Linked DNA regions of Homo sapiens: region 1 is linked to region 2. Evidence: promoter capture Hi-C in 16 types of primary human blood cells and fetal thymus (Javierre and others, 2016). All regions are on one chromosome and are shown on one strand. Each heading gives the region's core, a stretch centred on a gene start or on the middle of the fragment in contact. The rest is flanking DNA. Distances are from core to core; before and after follow the strand shown.

The links. Contacts are between HindIII fragments. The CHiCAGO score rates a contact against its expected background, and 5 or more counts as called.
Region 1: a contact is called between a fragment that was not itself captured here and the fragment with the promoter of CEP76 in region 2, in 2 of 17 cell types (total CD4 T cells and naive CD4 T cells). The highest score is 5.6, in total CD4 T cells.

Annotation. Positions count from the first base shown.
Region 1 is chr18:13,744,333-13,747,032 of GRCh38, forward strand. RNMT (RNA guanine-7 methyltransferase) reads left to right here. Exons shown (of 12, transcript NM_003799.3): 9 at 1,888-2,005. Among named protein-coding and RNA genes, the nearest start is that of RNMT, 19 kb to the left of the region's middle. The HindIII fragment of the contact is 922 bases long and covers 934-1,855 here.
Region 2 is chr18:12,701,356-12,704,055 of GRCh38, forward strand. CEP76 (centrosomal protein 76) reads right to left here and starts at 1,368. Exons shown (of 12, transcript NM_024899.4): 1 at 1,131-1,368. The coding sequence starts at 1,193. It overlaps PSMG2 (proteasome assembly chaperone 2), which reads left to right and starts at 1,687. Exons shown (of 7, transcript NM_020232.5): 1 at 1,687-1,809. The coding sequence starts at 1,753. RefSeq lists enhancers at 513-1,410, 696-995, 1,006-1,055. The HindIII fragment of the contact is 2,487 bases long and covers 1-2,373 here.

The DNA.
Region 1 (2,700 bases), core at 145-2,644, 1.0 Mb after region 2:
ATTTAACAGAAATAAGCTTTTTGTGTGGCAAAACTTATTCAAATTGGGCCTCAATTCTTTGAATCATGATTTTTTTAGGTGTAAAACTTGGTTTCATTTCTAAAGGGTTATTTTAGAGATTTACAAACGAAAATGAACTGCCTGGAATAAAAAACTTGGTTTCATTTCTAAAGGCTTATTTTAGAGATTTACAAAAGAAAATGAACTGCCTGGAATAAAAAACTTGGTTTCATTTCTAAAGGCTTATTTTAGAGATTTACAAAAGAAAATGAACTGCCTGGAATAAAAGACTTAATTTTGCTCATGTTGCCTTTCCAAGGAGGATTAATTGAAGTAACAGAATCCTGCCTTACGTATACCTCTTACATAGAAACCTCAGTGGCCCTCCAGTGTTTGCCCTTACCCTATCCCCTCAAATGCCACCCTGTACACGAGCCTTCCCACCTAATTTTCAGGGTTTCTCCCCTTCCTTCCACTCTTCCTTTAACTGCTGCCTGAAGTCATCTCCAGGCTCCCTCTTGTTGTCTACAGATACATGATTATAAACTTGGCAAATGCAGTGAGGAAAAAAACTACCTGAGAGTCTAACGGAGAGACCTAATATAATTAAGATTTAAGGAAGGTGCCTGTAAAGAATCGATGTTTGAGTCAGGATCTAAAGGATGGAAAAGTAGGTGGGCAGCTGAGGACTGGAGGGAAGAATGCTCCTGACAAGAGGACAGCGTGTGTGAGGGCCCAGCAGTGGGAAAGCTAGGCTAGTCCAAGATGTTGAAAGAAGGCCCATCCTGATTTATATCGGGGGCTGTCCCAAAATGAGGCAGCATTCCTTTACAGATGAATGTCTTCGAGACCATGTTCTGTATCCTAAGTGCACTGGAGCCCAGTGGAGGGTGTTAAGGGGGTAGTGACATGACTCAGGTCCGCATTTCTGAAAGCTTAATCTGGCTGCGATTGGAAAATTCATTGAGGGAGAGTAAGAATGGAAGCAGGGGACAAGCAAAGTGAGTTTATGGACTGGTGCCACTGAGTGGTGATGGTGACTGAAGCAGCAGGATGGTGCCAAATGCAGGAGGTAAGAAGTGGACCTATTTGAAATTGATGTTTTCTAGGTAAAATAGAAAGGACTTAGTGATGTGTATTGAGCACAGTGGGTAAAAGAGAAGGGGAGATGGCATGGATCACTAGGTGGATTTACTGAAATGGCAAAGATTGGCAGTAAAAGAGCAGTGATGTTCAGCCTTAGATGTGGGACGTTAGAGAGTGCCAGTGACACATGCAGGTGAAGATTTCTAATAAGCAGTAGAATCCATGAGTGATGAGAGACAGCTGAACTACCGATAGCTGGGGGGTGGAAGTGAGTAGGGCTCTGGACTGTACTCTACAGAACCTTGAAGTTTAGAAGTTGGGTAAAAAAAAACCTGTAAGTGAAAAGGAAAAAAAAAAAACCTGCAAAGAAGCAGTTCATGATGTAGGGGAAAAATTAATAGTGTATCTTGCCAGAGAAGTCGAGATGAAAGTGAATCTTTAAGAAGGAAGTTGGCAGCTGTTTGCAGTGCAGCTGTGAGAGATCAAGTAAAGTGAAATGGAATCAGTAGAAAAGAGTTTCCTACACTTTTTCCGCATCTCACAGCTCCGGAGACTCTCATTTACTTCCTGACCTTTATGTTATACTAATAGAGCCCTCTGAAACCCCTGAGATTTAGAATGCATGTTTCTTTTAGGTGTGATATGTTACTCTTGATTCATTTTGTATTACTGTATTGTGAATTTATCAAGGGAGTGGTAGCTTTTTTAGTTAAGTCCAGAAGATGTCATTGCTGTACAAAAGTAAGTTGAGGAATTACAAACATGTGGAAGCTTTTTCATTAAGTATTCTTTTTTGGACAGAATGGCAAAGAAGTACAATATGAAACTAGTCTACAAAAAAACATTTCTGGAATTCTACGAAGAAAAGATTAAGAACAATGAAAATAAAATGCTCTTAAAACGAATGCAGGCCTTGGAGGTGAGTATTTAGAAAAGATGTACAAATTTCAGTCATGGTGAACTTGTTTGGCTGTTCTTGAGATCCTTGCAAGGCCATCTGAACATGAAATAGTTATGTGTATTACGCTCTTCAGCACCTAGGACGGAGCTTGATACAGAAACTGCATGGTGAGTGCTCAGTAAATACTTGATGAAAGAATGAGTACTGGTGTTACCAAATTCTGTTTTCTAGGATAGTACTGCTTTAAAATAGGATTTCTCAGCCTCAGGACTGTTGACATTTTGTTCTGGATAATGCCTTGCTGTGGGATGCTGTGCATTGTAGGATATTCAGTAGCATTCCTGGCTTCTACGCACTAGATGCCTTCCAGTAACACTCTTGTCCCCAGTTACGATAACCAGAAAACTCTCTCCAGACATTGCCAAATGTCCCCTGGTGGACAAAATTGCCCCAAGTTGAGAACCAGTTCTTTACAACAGTGCCTTTTGGTTACGACAGTAATTTAGAACCTTCCTGGCCAGTGTCCAGACAAGCTCAAACCATACATAATTTTATTGCATGGTAATTCTTTAGCAGGGTTCCAGTCTTTTAGACTGTGTTGTTGCTGAGACCTCTCCTGTCCTAATGCAGCAGTGAAGGTATCTATATAAGCTTCAATTACACAGCCATTGATTGTTTTTCCTTTTTCTCCTTACCAGACAATGTTTGGTTGG
Region 2 (2,700 bases), core at 118-2,617:
GAGAGGGAGTATAGTATAATCAGAAGAACACGGACTGGGAGTAGGCAGATCAAAGTATGATCTTATTACTTTCATACTTTGATCTGCCTAATGATAAGGGAATCTTACCAGCTTTCAACTTAGTAGATGTGTAACCTCAAGCCAACTTATTTACCCTTTATAAATCTGTTTCGTCACCGATAAGAATGGAAAAACCTAGTGTAGTGCCCTCTCACGATAGTGTTGTGAGGATTAAAGATACTAGACAGCACAAAGCCTGGCACACAAGGGCACCATAAATGGTCGCTTTTATCACTTCAGCATCTTGCACTCAGTCGAGCGAGCGCTGCAGAAACTGGAGGTTCTTCTGGAGCTCCGAAATATTAACAAATTCCGTCATTACAAACCCTTTAGTAACTTCTCTTCCATGACTTATTTGAGAATTGCTGATTGAAGCTCCTGGTTCAACTTCGCTGATACCCACATGTTTCAGCGGTAAAGAAACCCTGATATCTGCCGGGCGCGGAGGCTCACGCCTGTAATCCCAGCACTTTAGGAGGCCGAGGCGGCCGGATCACGAAGTCAGGAGTTCGGGACCAGCCACACCAACATGGTGAAACCGTCTCTACTAAAAATACAAAAATTAGCCGAGCGTGGTGGCGCGCGCCTGTAATCCCAGCTACTCGGGAGGCTGAGGCGGAGAATCGCTTAAACCTGGGAGGCGGAGGTTGCAGTGAGCCGAGATCGTGCCACTGCACTCCAGCCTGGGCAACAGAGAGACTCCGTCTCAAGAAAGAAAAAAAACCTGATATCTTACAGCAGAATATAAACCTCCAAATACAACTTACACTCGATCCGACTTCCAGAAGTCGCTCGCTAAGCGCTTCATTCTCACGGCCGTCCTAAAACGCCAAGACCGCTCGTTCTATCGCCCCAGACTCTTGCTAGCACCTGCTCGGCTCGTTTTCTTTCTCGGAGACGAGGACGCTCTCCTGCCTCAAACTCAAAGCTCTGCCTACTCTGCGTTGCGCACCCCACAATCCTCGCTACAGTCCCGGCAAGCAGATGCCGCTGTCGGCCCGGGGCCGCCGGGCAGGAGGGAAAGGTTATGGGTCGGCCCGGCGGTCTCTCCCAGCACCCGCGACTCTCACCTTGCTCAGCTGCTGGTGGATGAGCTGCTTCAGCTCGGAGGCTTTCTCCGGAGGCAGCGACATGCTGGCAGCCGGCGTCTCCCCGCCGCTTCTCCCCGCCTCAGATGCCCTAACTGCGCGGCCCCGGCCGGGCCAGGGAGCGTTAGGAGCGACTGGAGCACAAAGCGCCGCAGCCGTTCGCCTAGCGCAGCTCCCGGGGGACGCAACGCCGCGTCAGGCCGGGGGCTGACCTGGAAATGAGGCCCCGGCGGCGGCGGCGCCAACTGTTTTCAAACAGTGGCGGACAAACAGGGCTTGGGGCTGGCCCGCACGCTGCCTGATCGTTTCCGCCCGCCGCTCCACCTCCCCGCGGGCCCCGCACCCCGAGACCTCAGCGCACCCCATCGCCTTGCTTGCCAGGGTCTCCGAAAGCGCTGCTGGCCCCTCTTCGCGGCCACCCGGCGGCCTCTTTCCGCCCTCTGAACCGGCAGTTAGCTGGACGGGCCTCAAGGGCCCGGCGCCCAGGGACTCAAAGGACCCTCCCGCGCCCCGCGAGGCTCCGGGGTCTCGGGCTTCCGCCTTCTTGCTGCCCTCGTTCTTGCCAGGGCCGCGGTTAGTCCCTGCTGGCCACCCCACTGCGACCATGTTCGTTCCCTGCGGGGAGTCGGCCCCCGACCTTGCCGGCTTCACCCTCCTAATGGTGAGTCTCCATTTGCGCTCGGGGCTGCCGCCTCCCGAGGCCCCTGCGGTGTCGCCACCCCGACGCGGGGTGTTTGGCGGTGCCTTGGGAGAAATAGGGCACTAGTTTCTATTTCATGTTTTCGGCCGGAAAAAACAGGGAGGTTGTAGCCGGAGGCAGCCGTCCAAACAGAACCTTTGTCGGCTGTAAAACCAAACGTAGTCAAGTCTACAATTTGTAGTCTCTGTTTCCTGTAAAACGTGATGTGTTCGTACGTTCTAGATACACTGTACTTATGTTTTGCAGGGCATCCTTCAGTTTTATCCTAGAAAGTCTTTCTACGACTAGTTTTAGAATTAGTCTTAAGCTAGCATATTATCGTTGTTAACCGGAGAACTACTGATAGGGCAATAAACATTAACTCTTGCCGGTAGTTAGCGCAGTTTTATCGCTCTTTATATTCATTCATTGTTTTAATAAAGTCTGTTATGTGCGAGTATTAGAATAAGACTAGGTGCGTGCCCTCAAAGAATTTACACTGTAGTTGGAAACATGTAATCTAAGAGCAATAAATGCTAGGCTAGAAGCTTGAAAGGGTATAGAAAGGTCCTGAGATAATTGGGAGGGGAGGGACAGATGGCTTGTTAAGAAAGGCTTTATAGAGAAAGTAGTATGCAAAAGATGGAGGGCCCGTGGGCTGGGAGTAGGGGAAAGTAGGCGTTTCAGAAAGATGGATGTCTAAAACAGAGTCAGTAAGCAGGGGGACTTGAAGACTGCCAAGAATTTGGAATGACACATTGAGAGAGAATAGGCTGTAGGCCCTGTGAACCCAGAAGGCACCATTGGAAAATGCACTGTTTGGAGTGGTATAAGGCTGGAGAGAGCTGGAAGTGTCATCCTTATTCATTACAT